2 separate regions of the Homo sapiens genome follow, and region 1 is linked to region 2. The links are contacts of gene promoters, found by promoter capture Hi-C in human tissues and cell types (Jung and others, 2019). All regions are on one chromosome and are shown on one strand. The core of a region is centred on a gene start or on the middle of the fragment in contact, and the rest is flanking DNA. Distances in the headings are between cores, read along the strand shown. Region 1 overlaps HPS4 (HPS4 biogenesis of lysosomal organelles complex 3 subunit 2). Region 2 holds the start of TFIP11 (tuftelin interacting protein 11).

Evidence for each region. Contacts are between HindIII fragments. The study calls those that stand out against the background at their distance.
Region 1: a fragment that was not itself captured here is called in contact with the fragment with the promoter of TFIP11 in region 2 in 2 of the 25 tissues and cell types used here (neural progenitor cells and pancreas).

What each region holds. Positions count from the first base shown.
Region 1 is chr22:26,450,580-26,456,994 of GRCh38, reverse strand. HPS4 (HPS4 biogenesis of lysosomal organelles complex 3 subunit 2) reads left to right here. Exons shown (of 14, transcript NM_022081.6): 14 at 3,591-6,113. The coding sequence ends at 3,762. Among named protein-coding and RNA genes, the nearest start is that of ASPHD2, 25 kb to the right of the region's middle. The HindIII fragment of the contact is 5,351 bases long and covers 1-5,240 here.
Region 2 is chr22:26,508,898-26,515,639 of GRCh38, reverse strand. It overlaps TFIP11 (tuftelin interacting protein 11), which reads left to right and starts at 3,167. Exons shown (of 15, transcript NM_012143.4): 1 at 3,167-3,246; 2 at 3,465-3,541; 3 at 4,938-5,023; 4 at 5,359-5,576. The coding sequence starts at 5,368. TFIP11-DT (TFIP11 divergent transcript) reads right to left here and starts at 3,108. Exons shown (of 2, transcript NR_144529.1): 1 at 2,606-3,108; 2 at 1,072-2,228. RefSeq lists enhancers at 2,345-2,882, 3,105-3,284. The HindIII fragment of the contact is 22,947 bases long and covers 1-6,742 here.

The DNA of each region.
Region 1 (6,415 bases), core at 1,316-3,815, 58 kb after region 2:
TGTACAATTTTACAGTTGTCTTTTTTCACATTATGTCATAGCTTGAACACCTCCATGCCAGAAGAAATATTATGATTATTGTAATTTACAGTATTTAACCAACCGAATTTGTTTTTTTCTTTCTATATGCTTCTCTTATGAAACCAGAAAGGGAGTTTGGGCTTTAAAGATCACTTTATAAAAGCCCGAGGAGACTGGGACCTGAGAATTTGGTTGACAACTGGTAACAGAAAATAAAGCAAGTTAGCAGGTCAAGGGCAGTGCTGGCAATGTGTATATTAGTCCACGTAGTCCTTGGAACCATCTGGTCAAGGGCATTATTTTTTATTTATTTATTTTGAGATGGAGTCTCACTCTCGCCAGGCTGGAGTGCAGGGGCTCAGTCTCGGCTCATTGCAACCTCTGTCTCCTGGTTTCAAGCAATTCTTCTGCCTCAGCCTCCTGAGTAGCTGGGACTACAGGCACCTGCCACCATGCCCAGCTAATTTTTGTATTTTTAGTAGAGATAGGGTTTCACCATGTTGGCCAGGATAGTCTCAATGTTTTGACCTAGTGATCTGCCCACCTTGGCCTTCCAAAGTGCTGGGATTACAGGCGTGAGCCACCACGCCCGGCTTCAAGGGCATTTTTTAAATCCTCATTTTACAGATGAGAAAATTGAAGCACAAATAGGATAAGCAGCTTGCCCAGGGTTATATTCTTCTTAAGTGGCAGGGCCAGGATTTGAAGCATTTTCTCCAACTGTTAAGCACATGTATGACCTTTCCACACACATTTCAGTGTCGGGGCAGTGTGGTCCAGTGTGAGGGGCATGGGTGGTGGACTGACAGGGAGCCTGGGTGGGTGATTAGGATGGTTCTGATTCCCTGTCACCCGCCACACTTGAGCGCCAGGTGTTCTGCTGCCTCTCAGCGTCTCCAGCCAATATTCCAATAGATCTTTCTGTCAGAAATGTGTCTTCTCTGGCTTTAATTCACAGCTGCCCCAGGCTGGCAACCCAGAGGCAACTTGCATCTACAGTCACTGGTTTGGGAACTGGCTGTGTTGGGGGTGTGTGTGTCTGTTTTGTGGGAGGTGGAAACAAGTAAAATGTCAGCATCTGCTCCACCAACCACCTTGTGGCCCTGCAGTATGTCACCTTCCTTAGAGCTGAGAGGGGTTTAGTGTTGAGACACATAGCTCAAGGCATTTGTTGAGAGATTATTTCAATAACAGTAATAGAAACAACAGCTACCATTTCTTTTTTTTTTTAATTTTATTATTATTATAAGTTTTAGGGTACATGTGCTGTGCACAACGTGAGGTGTGTTACATATGTATACATTTGCCATGTTGGTGTGCTGCACCCATTAACTCGTCATTTAGCATTAGGTATATCTCCTAATGCTATCCCTCCCCCCTCCCCCCACCCTACAACAGGCCCCAGTGTGTGATGTTCCCCTTCCTGTGTCCATGTATTCTCATTGTTCAATTCCCACCTATGAGTGAGAACATGTGGTGTTTGGTTTTTTGTCCTTGCAATAGTTTGCTGAGAATGATGGTTTCCAGTTTCATCCATGTCCCTACAAAGGACATGAACTCATCATTTTTTATGGCTGCATAGTATTCCATGGTGTATATGTGCCACATTTTCTTAATCCAGTCTATCGTTGTTGGACATTTAGGTTGGTTCCAAATCTTTGCTATTGTGAATAGTGCCGCTATAAACATACGTGTGCATGTGTCTTTATAGCAGCATGATTTATAATCCTTTGGGTATATACCCAGTAATGGGTTGGCTGGGTCAAATGGTATTTCTAGTTCTAGATCCCTGAGGAATCGCCACACTGACTTCCACAATGGTTGAACTAGTTTACAGTCCCACCAACAGTGTAAAAGTGTTCCTATTTCTCCACATCCTCTCCAGCACCTGTTGTTTCCTGACTTTTTAATGATCGCCATTCTAACTGATGTGAGATGGTATCTCATTGTGGTTTTGATTTGCATTGCTCTGATGGCCAGTGATGATGAGCATTTTTTCATGTGTTTTTTGGCTGCATAAATGTCTTCTTTTGAGAAGTGTCTGTTCATATCCTTCGCCCACTTTTTGATGGGGTTGTTTGTTTTTTTCTTGTAAATTTGTTTGAGTTCATTGTAGATTCTGGATATTAGCCCTTTGTCAGATGAGTAGGTTGCGAAAATTTTCTCCCGTTCTGTAGGTTGCCTGTTCACTCTGATGGTAGTTTCTTTTGCTGTGCAGAAGCTCTTTAGTTTAATTAGATCCCATTTGTCAATTTTGGCTTTTGTTGCCATTGCTTTTGGTGTTTTAGATGTGAAGTCCTTGGCCATGCCTATGTCCTGAATGGTATTGCCTAGGTTTTCTTCTAGGGTTTTTATGGTTTTAGGTCTAACATGTAAGTCTTTAATCCATCTTGAATTAATTTTTGTGTAAGGTGTAAGGAAGGGATCCAGTTTCAGCTTTCTACATATGAACAGCTACCATTTCTTAACCACTCACAATGTGTTAAGCACTCACTTAATCTCATTCTTTAAAACAAAACAAAACAAAAACACCAATGAGGACACATACTGTTGCAACAAACACTGTACAGATGAAAAAGCTGGGACTCAGAAATGTTGAATAGCAGCCCAGGACACACACTAGGAAGTAATAGGGCTGGGATTAGCACCTGAGTGTGTGTGACTCCAGATCCATGCTCATAACCATCTGGCCTCGGAGCCCTCCCACAGGGCTGTGAGAAGAGATTGTCTTGCTGGGCCAGTGGGTGCAGGAGACACTGAAGCTTGGAATAGGGTGGGATTTTTCTCCCTTACAGGGAAGGAGAGAATTGAGTGAGGGGAGCCTTAGCAGTCCCTGACTCCACCCTTTCTCACTAGATTTGGGGGAAACTGAGGCCCATAATAGTTGGAGAGGCAGGATCCAGAAACCAGGGGGGTTTGTTTACCTTGGCCTGGAGTTGGCTCCTCCCAGGTGGCTCCGCCTCTGTGTAGTGCCCTCATCCCTCCCTCTCTGTGTCCACAGGCTTCCTGTCACTTCGTGTCACATCCCACTCCTGTCCTTCACTCCCTCTCAGTCTATCCAGCCACCCCCAGTGTGGAGAGCAGACTAGACTCCTTTCTCGGACACTGCCATTGCCTCGTCATAGAGGCAGGGCAGCCCCAGCTACTCACTCTGAGCCTCAGGGTCCTTGTCTGTGAAATGGGACCATACCACCACTGCAGAGCTTATGTGAGGGGCAAAGCAGAGACTGTATGCAGAGCACATTGCATAGCTGCCAGTATGTCAAAAAAGCCAGCACTCCACAGTTCCTTTATGCAATACTTATAACTCCAGGATCTGTGGCTGCTGCCACTGTGGATGGTCCCGCCACGGACTCTTCCAGCATCTAGTGAGCTGAAAGGAAGGAAAGATGGTATTGGCACTGAAGCCTGAAACTCAGCTGAAGAAATAGAATTCCGTGCCATGACAGCTGCACATGCCACATTGGGTGTCCTGGGTCCTCTGTGACAAGAACCTTACTGAGGTCTCTGTGTGGTCTGAGATTAGCACCAGCAGCATTGGACCGTTGCCTTCTTTCTTCCTCCAACAGAAATGCCTCCACGGCTGTGTACGCCTGTTGCAACCCCATCCAGGAGACATATTTCCAGCAGCTGGCACCTGCAGCACGGAGCTCCGGCTTCCCAAACCCTCAGGATGGCGCCTTCAGCCTCTCCGGCAAAGCAAAGCAGAAGCTGCTGAAGCACGGGGTGAACTTGCTCTGAACTGCACCCAGGAGGTGACTGGGAAGGAGAAAACCAGCAAAGGAAGCTCTGCCTTTTATAATTGAAAAGGCCCCTCTATTTTATTTTTCTTGAAAACATTCCCTTTTTTAGGAACCAAATGATATTTGAGTTTTTGTTATTCCTTTTGCAGATTGGGATGTGTTTTGGGGGCAGGGGTTAGTTCTTCAGGTCGGCAGACCCAGAGCACTTGATAAAGAACTGTATTTAATCGGTAGTGTTGGGGCCGGGACGGGCTTGGCTCCCTCTCTGCCATACTGAGCCTGAGGTATTTCATATCTCCTGCTGTTCCATCCCAGCTTGAATTGGTGCCACAAGCTTCCAAGTTGGCATTTTTTCTAGAACCTGATCGTCCACTAGCCCAGAGTGTGTGTGTTCAACCCCCACACCAGGTGGTGGTAGGCGGTGTGACTGCACAGCGAGGTGCCGGATCTGTGAGCAGGCCGACTCCACTCCCACGCCGCAGGTAGGTTTCTCCAGTGCGCTCTTGCTGGGAGGTCCGGATCGTTCCTGCAGGGAAGCGGCAGCACACGGAGACCACTTGGTTGAATTCTGTTGGAACTCTACTCAAATCTAGGGGCGTCTTCTTTGGACCCACAATGGGGGCAAGCCTTAATAATATGGAAGGGAGTTTGGGCTTTAGAGATCCCTTTATAAAAGCTCTGGGGGCTGAGCCCTGAGAATTCAGTGACAACAGGACCAACCTGCGCTGCCTTTGACTACAAGTGGGCCGTGCAGCTGGTTCCTCTCGAGCGAGTGTCCCTAAATAGGAGTTTACAAGATGTCTGGGGGTAAAAGCACTGTGCTTTTCAGTGGTGGCTGCGTGAAAGGGAGCGACACTCAGCTGTGTGTTCCTGGGCTTGTGTGGTACTTAGAACCTCAGTTCTATTACGTTATAGTCAGACATTTTTTTGACAGTATGAGACAGACTGCAGGATGAAAATATTTGTCAAAATCTTAACTGAATGTTTACTGGAAGTACTTGAGATTCCATTTGAGAGTTGTATTGTTAATAATTTCATGTCAGTGAACTGATATCTGATGTTTATGATATGGTGTCTTTTTCTTGAAACAAGCTTCCAAGGGCTAGAAATAAAATAGCCAAAAAATGCTGGAGTTCTGAGTAATTAAATGGCAGCATTTTTTTGTGACAAAGGTAAGGGTTAAGACAGTGTGTGTGTGTGTGTGTGTGTGTGTGTGTGTGTGTGTGCGCGCGCGCGCGCGCGCGTAACGTGGGCGCATCCCTCTTTTCCTTCCCTGGGTTCAGTGTGGCTGGGTAAGGACCGTCTGTTTGTAGGGCTGCCAGGCTGCAGCCTGCTGCTCCAGGGAGCACCAGCTGCAGCTGATCCAATACACCAAGCCTGTGTCTCCCTCTTCTATCACCTCTCTCCAGGATCTCTGCTGTCTCTTGGATCCCATCTGCCTAGATGGAAGAGGATCCTATCCGAAGCTAGGATAAATGTTGTCTTACTCCTCTGCTATGTTCTCCCAGAAAAAATTGATTACAAGTTCTCTGCTGTGGTTGCTGCAGCTCCAGGAAGTCCCCGCAATGTCTCACGTTGTCTTTGACCAGTGGTCCCCAGTACCAGGCCAGCGAAGACAACTTTATAATGTCATTTGTGTTGTGAAAATTCTTCCACTGACCCAAAATGGAACCGTACAAAGCCTATCCGTGTATATGGAAAAGTCTCATGCACCTGGATTAACTCAGAAAAAGTAAAGTCCTGAAACTTCACTTTGCAGGTGTGCCCCTTTCTTTCCTCCTTTGATCCTGCTTAGTTTCTGCAGTGGAGGTTCTGCTCAGAGCCCCAGGGCACTGGCAGCTGCAGCCGTCATCTCTAAAGCTTGGTAACTGTGGCCCAGAGGCTGCAGAGAAGAAACACTTAACCCGCTGTTTTCCCGTTTTTTAATATTTCAGAGGTTTCAGGGGGTCACTCAGGACACGGTTAATCCCACAGCCCCAGGCCCATCCCCTCAAAATTAGCGCCCCCAGAGTACGGGCCAAGCGACGGACAGCCAAGCAGCATGTTCTTGCTGGAATGGGCACCACAACCTCTTATGGCCATGTTTCCCAAGGGAAGGCAGTGTGCAGGACAGCCTGCCCACCCTGGACTCCTAGTTGACACCGAGTGCCACTGTCAGTGATCCAGGACCACAGATTCTAGTGACTCTTCAGGGCAGAAAAGCCTCTGTTTTGGCTTCCTCTGTGCCAGCCATCTGCCACCTGTGAACTGTAAGGATAAAGGTCGCATGAGTGATTAATAGTGGTGTGTTAGTCCGTTCTCACGGTTCTAATAAAGACATACCCGAGACTGGGTACTTTATAAAGGAAAGAGGTTTAACTGACTCACAGTTCTGCAGGGCTGGAGAGACCTTGGGAAACTTATGATCATGGCAGAAGGGGAACCAAACACATCCTTCTTCACATGGTGGCAGCAAAGAGAAGTGCAGAGTGAAAGGGGGGAAAAGCCCCTTATACAACCATCAGATCTCACGAGAACTGTCACAAGAACAGCATGGAAGTAACCACACCCATAATTCAATTACCTCCCACCAGGTCCCTCCCACGACATGTGGGGACTATGAGAACTACAAAATGAGATTTGGGTGGGAACACAGCCAAACCATATCAAGT
Region 2 (6,742 bases), core at 1,918-4,417:
TGGAGGGCCCTGCCAGACTCCTTCTGCCCAAGGAGCCTTGTTGCTTTGGCAACCCCTTCTGCGAAGGCCACATGTCTGAGCACCTCATTGGGAATGTAGAAATGAGTGTGGATGTTCCCAAATCTCAAAGCAATGTTTTTGTTTTTTTTTTTCCCCTCTAGGAAATGACAGGAGATCACGATAGATATGAGACCTTGAACCTAAAGCTCTGGTTGCCTTGTAAAACTTTTCCTTGTTTTTCAAAGGCTGGGCATTTGATCCCAGAAATCCTGAAAAACCATGGATTTTTGAGACTGAAAGGGGTATGACATTGGGTTTTTAAAAATGAAGGCTGGCGCAGTGGCTCACGCCTGTAATCCCAGCACTTTGGGAGGCCAAGGCAGGTGGATCACGAGGTCAGGAGTTCGAAACCAGCTTGGCCAACATGTTGAAACCCCATCTCTAATAAAAATACAAAAAGTAGCCAGGCGTGGTGGCGCACACCTGTAATCCCAGCTACTCAGGAGGCTGAGACAGGAGAATTGCTTGAACCCAGGAAGCATATGTTGCAGTGAGCTGAGATCGTGCCACTGCACTCCAGCCTGGGTGACACAGTGAGACTCTGTCTGGGGGAAAAAAAAATTAAAACAAATAAAAAAACAAAAATTAGCTGGGCGTGGCGGCGTAACGCCAGCTACTCGAGAGGCTGAGGCATGAGAATCACTACAGCTGCGCCTGTAATGACAGCTACTCGGGAGGCTGAGGCATGAGAATCACTTGAATCTGGGAGGTAGAGGTTGCAAATGAGCGAAGATTGTGCTGCTGCACTCTAGCCTGGGCGACAGAGTGAGACTCTGTCTCAATAAATAAATAAATAAATAAATAAGAATATAGCCACAATCCTTTAGAAAGCTCTTACCATGCCAGGAGCTTTACATGCACTAATTATCACTTTCTGTTTTTGTTTTTCTCTAAACAACTCTCTTAGATCAGTACTGTCACTATCCCCAATCTACAGATGGAAAAATTGAGGTGTAGAGAGGTGAAGCAACCTGCCCTCGGGCCCATACCTAAGAAGTAGCAAAGTCGAGATTTGGATCCTTGAAGTTTTTACTCCAGAGCTTTCATTTTAAGAAATTGCAAAAAAGTTATTAAGTACAGAGAGAAACATTTTCCCTGTAATAATTTGAAATTAAGGTGACCATTTGATGCCTTATCCCCTGCCAAATACATTGATTTACTTTCCAGCAAACAAGAACATCCTCTGATGTAACTTAACAGGCAACCATGAAAATCAGGAAATTAACACGGACACATCATTACCACGGCATTGTAGGCCCCATTTAAACTTTTCCAACTGTCCCTGTAACTTCCTTTCAAGCAAAAAGATCCAGTTCAGAATCATGTGTTGTGTTTAGTTGTCATGCCTCTTTGGTCCCCTCCAGTTTGGAACAGTTCCAGGGTCTATCTTTGATTTTCATGACCTTGGCACTTTCTAAGATTACAGTTTTGTATACAGCATGTCTCTTTACGTGGGTTTGTCTGATATATCCTCATGATTACATCCAGGTTATGGATCTTCAGCAGGAATATCACAGGGGTGATGTTGCAATCTTCTCAGGGCATCCTATCAAGTGCCACATAACTTCACTTTGTCCCATTCCTGACAATGCAGACTCTGATCACTAAATCAGAGCCTGCACTCTTAACTACTCCATGACAGTCCACAAAGGTCCCTTCTTCAGAAGCCACAAAGTGAGTTCCATTTGGTGAAGTAAATCCACTAGCATCAGTCCCTCATGATCAAAGTAATTGCAGCTCCATAAAATCTGCTGTAAAGCCATAAACATAGCTACAGAAAAGCCAAGCGTATGTATGCTTTTGGCTTTTGGGCTACAAACAGATGTAAATACATTCAGGCACAGACTAAAAACACTTTTCTCCTCTGTTTCCCTTACTCTGCTCCTGGCAGGGCTTGTAGTCTGTTAGACCCTCTCTCCCGGCCTTCAATGCTAAAACCACATTTTCCATTTCTTTCCTGAGTACATACTATGTGTCAGGCACAATGATTCTACATGTCACTAAGAATACAGAGATCATTAAGACACAGTCATCATTCCTAAGCAGCCCACATTTAACTGGGTACACAAAAATTGTTGTTTAATTCTTAACAACTACTTGATGGTAGACTTAAGTATTTGACTCCAAGTCCCGTGCTCTTTTTACATTCCAACAATTGCCTCTTGAATCTTTTCATCACATAGAGCAGAGAGAGAAAAATTAAGCAAAAATTAATAGCTAACACTTCTTCAGCACCTACTGTTACCAGGTACGGTTTTCATTGCCTACAGTTTTATCTTATTGAATCCTTAACCATTTTGCAGAAGAGAAAACAGGCTTAGATGTAATGACTTGCCCAAGGTCCACAGCTGCTAAATTGCACTCAAGGTTGGAACTCCAGAGCCTGTGGACACTTAAATGTCTACAAGGAGTCCTTGGGCTAGTGAGGGCTTCCCAGGGAGGGCCCATGACTGTTCTGCTCATTGTATCACATTGGCCTAGCACAGGTGAGGGGCACTTAGTATATTTTAATTAGATCAATGAATAAATTAATGAATTTACCAACCTGCTGGAAACGAAAAGAATGGAAACAGCTCCTGGAGAGAATACTTGGGAACTCCAGAGTTTGCCCATTCATTCCTTCATTCCCTCTTAAACTCCTGCATAAAGGCCACTGCCCTGTGCCCACGACGGTGCTTATACCGAGAGCGTCAAAGATACAGGAATCACAGTCTTGACCTTCATTATTCCCATTTGAATGCTGTGTCCCAGGCCCCTTATTGTCTCACAGTATTTACCACAACTACCGTATGGGCTAATCCTACATCTCTATTTTACAGATTTACAATCTCAGAGTGGTAAAGTCTCCTTAGGCCAAGGTGGCTCAGCGGATTCCACACCAGTCATCACAGGCTGAGCGTCACAGTACAAAGCAGGAGCGGCAGGGAGGCCGATTCCGCGGGGAAACCACTCCCCAGCTATTCTAGGCCTTGCAAATCCACCCCTCCTATCTAAGATCCCAGCCGGCCGCTCTGCAGCCATATCCGCCGTAGCGTCCCACGCTGCCCTGGCAGCCAGCAGGACATCCGCTGTCGACTAACGTCATTTCCGGCGCGCCGGCCACGGTGCTTCCGGGTTCTGGTGTAGGAGCGGCGTCTTCTCGCGCGGATGGTGAAGCTGAATTTGGTACGCTGGACCCTCGGACAGGTGAGCACGGCTGGCCACAAGGGGACTCAGCGCCAGTGAGAGTAGGGACGAAGGCTCAGGGAAGGCGAGCTTCGGTCCAAGCCGTTGGGGTGTGGGGAGGGGAATCCATTTCGTAGACAGCTCTGCCGAGGCACGGAGAGGGGCGGTGCTGCTTGGGGTCAACTGGGATTTAGGGCTTGGATTCATTTAAGAACCTGAGCTTCCTTCACCAAACCTAGACAGCAAGAGAGAGACAAGCCCGAGGCCTGACTTCTAGCACTCCTGAGTTTGAGCCCTATGAGCAGTGGAACCTAGGGTAAGTTACTAACTTCTCTGAACCTCCTTTTTCTTATCTGAAGCATGAAAACTAACGGTACCTACCTTGCAGAAGTGTCTTGATGCAGACAGTTGATAATCGGTCTCAAGCGACCAGCATGTACCTAGCATCTACTGATAAAGGCTTCATAACTTGTGACTACTCGGGGCTTATTACCATTTACTATGCCCACGCAGGCAGTGGTATTATTTAACTTTATGTATTTGAGATTCCCCGTCTTTTCTGAAAATCCTTCTGTCCTAAACACTCCTGGAAGAGGTTGGGACCCGTTGCACCCAACCGGTGCACCAGTGAGTAGAAGAAGGCAGAGATAACGTTTTGCCAGAGGTGACCAGAGTTTGACACTGCCTGTGGAAGTAGTGAACTCCGTGTGCCTTAAGGCCGCTTTCAGCAAGACAAGAATCACAATTGCTGTCACCTATGGAGTGTATTATTGTGTAGTGCACCATGCTTGGCGCTTCACGTGCATATTTAATTCTCATACACTGGGTATCTGATAGAGTTGAATTTGAACTCAGGCTTCGATTTTAGCCTGCCTGATTTTACAGTCACTTTGCTAAGTTTACTCCCTAGTCCCATAATAATAATGATGATTGTGATGGTAAATACTGAGTGTCAACTTGATTGGATTGAAGGATACGAAGTATTGATCCTGGGTGTGACTATGTGGGTGTTGCCAAAGGAGATTAACATTTGAGTCTGTGGGTGGGGAAAGGCAGACCCACCCTCAATTCAATCTGTGTGGGCATAATCTAATCAGCTGCCAGCACGGCAAGAATATAAGCAGGCAGAAAAATGTGAAAAGAGAGACTGGCCTAGCCTCCCAGCCTATATCTTTCTCCTGTGCTGGATGCTTCCTGCCCTCGAACATTGGACTTCAAGTTCTTCAGCTTTGGAACTTGACTGGCTCTCCTTGCTCCTCAGCCTGCAGACAGCCTATTGTGGGACCTTTTGATCGTGTGAGTTAATAGTTAATAAGCTCCCCTTTATATATGTATGTCTATTCCATTAGTTATGTCGCTCTAGAGAACCCTGACTAATACAATGATTAACCTAATCATGGGACTAAAGTAGAAGCTATCGTTTCTTGAGCACTTATTTTGAACTCATTGAATTTGCTTTGTAAGCCTTCTCTAAGGTTGGTATGGTAGTTAATCCCAATTTAAGAAAGACAACTGAATCTGGTCACCCAGCTACTGTGAGGTAGATTCTCTATATCAATCTCTGGACATCTGACTATTAAAATAGTGTTCATAATTACTACAGTCTTTCAGTTCATCAGAAGAAATTCATGTTTTGTGAGGAAAACTGAAAATTTTGTTTCATCAAGTAATGTATTTCAAAAAGCATATTCTAAAAAAAATCACTCTCCTAGGACCACCAAGGATCCAGATATAATTCTTTCCTCAGTAATAGAAAAAAGAATCTGGGATCTAAGAAGATACCTACTCATTTTCTAAGGTAATAATGTACAAAATAACCTACTTAGTTATTTTTGTGTGGTTTGTGTATGTGTGAATATGTGTGATATTTATGATATTGACTAGGACAAGGAGATATGTACTTTTAAAGAATCATAGACTGTTAGGAGTAGTATTTTGTTCACCTGTTTTAGTACTGATTGTTATCTAAAAGTAGGTTTTTAATATCTTTTTTATTGAATAGTAATGCTGACTTTAATGGACTTTGAATTTGGAGAAAGTTCTGAAAGCAGCAAGGAATAGAGACTCACAAGGAATCCTTCGACTGCTGCCCCCAGGACTTACGGCCTGTGCTCTTTTTGTCTCTTCCTTTAGTGACTGGCCATGTCATTGTCCCACTTATACCGGGATGGGGAAGGCCGCATTGATGATGATGATGACGAGCGGGAGAACTTTGAGATCACTGACTGGGATCTCCAGAATGAGTTCAACCCCAACCGACAGCGCCACTGGCAGACCAAGGAAGAAGCCACCTACGGGGTGTGGGCAGAGCGAGACTCGGATGATGAGAGGCCCAGCTTTGGAGGCAAACGGTATTGCCTGGCATGGGGGCTGCTTCACCTTGCTTTAGGGAAGAGGGGGAAGATGGACAGGGAGTGGAGGAGATACCCTGATAAGTATACTTCTCACCTGGCCTTGTTGAGACTGTTAGCTGTGACATCATCTCGAGAGGTCTGGTTTCCTCTTTAGGCTAGAGTGCTGCTCTTTCACTGATTTATTCTATTTATTATTATTTTTTTTGAGACACGGTTTCACTTTGTTGCCCAGGTTGGAGTGCAGTGACGTGCTCTTGGCTAGCTGCAACCTCCACCTTCCAGGTTTAAGTGATTCCCGTGCCTCAGCCTCCCGAGTAGGTGGGATTACAAGCAAACGCCACCACCTCCAGCTAATGTTTGTATTATTAGTAGAGACGGGGTTTTGCCATGTTGGCCAGGCTGGTCTTGAACTCCTGACCTCAAGTGATCCACCCACCTCAGCCTCCCAAAGTGCTGGGATTACAGGCGTGAGCCACCACGCCTGGCCTCACTGATTTAATTATCAGTGTTTATTGAGCGATTGCTATGTATTAGGCCTGTGCTATAGACCCATTCTTGCCTTCCTAGAGCCCAGACATTAGAAGATGGAAATAGGCATTAACAACTCAGACGATCAAACTTGTGACTGTGATGCAGGACATGAGGGACATGAGGACATGAGGGAGAACACATTTTAGGGCATTTCATCTATTCTGAGAGGTCAAGGAAGATTTCTGTGGAGAAAAGTGACCCTTAAGCTGATATGACTGACAGTAGAAGGTAACTAGGGTGGTAGAAGAGGTCCCAATATGCAAAGGCCCTTGATGGGAAGCATCACGGTATCCACAAGGATATGAAAGGCTTGGGGGCTGGAGCAGAGAGGGGGAAGGGTAGCATAGTGTGTGTGATAGAGAGGGTGTGATGTGGGGCTGGGTTATGTTTTGAGAAGACCCTTTTGCTGGTGTGCTCAATAGGCATGGAGCCACAGTGGAAGACTGTGAGGAGGCCAAGCCAGTGGTCCCTGCACAGGTAGTGGAGGACTGGTCTAGGATAGTGGTGGGCAATGAGGATTCAGGCTGCACGTCTTCTCCCCAGCACAAGGTTATGTGTGCCCTGGCTGAACCTCACTCAACCAGGGTGTGCCAGGTTGGGGGTTTTTTCCTCCATGGCCTCACCTGTGGCCT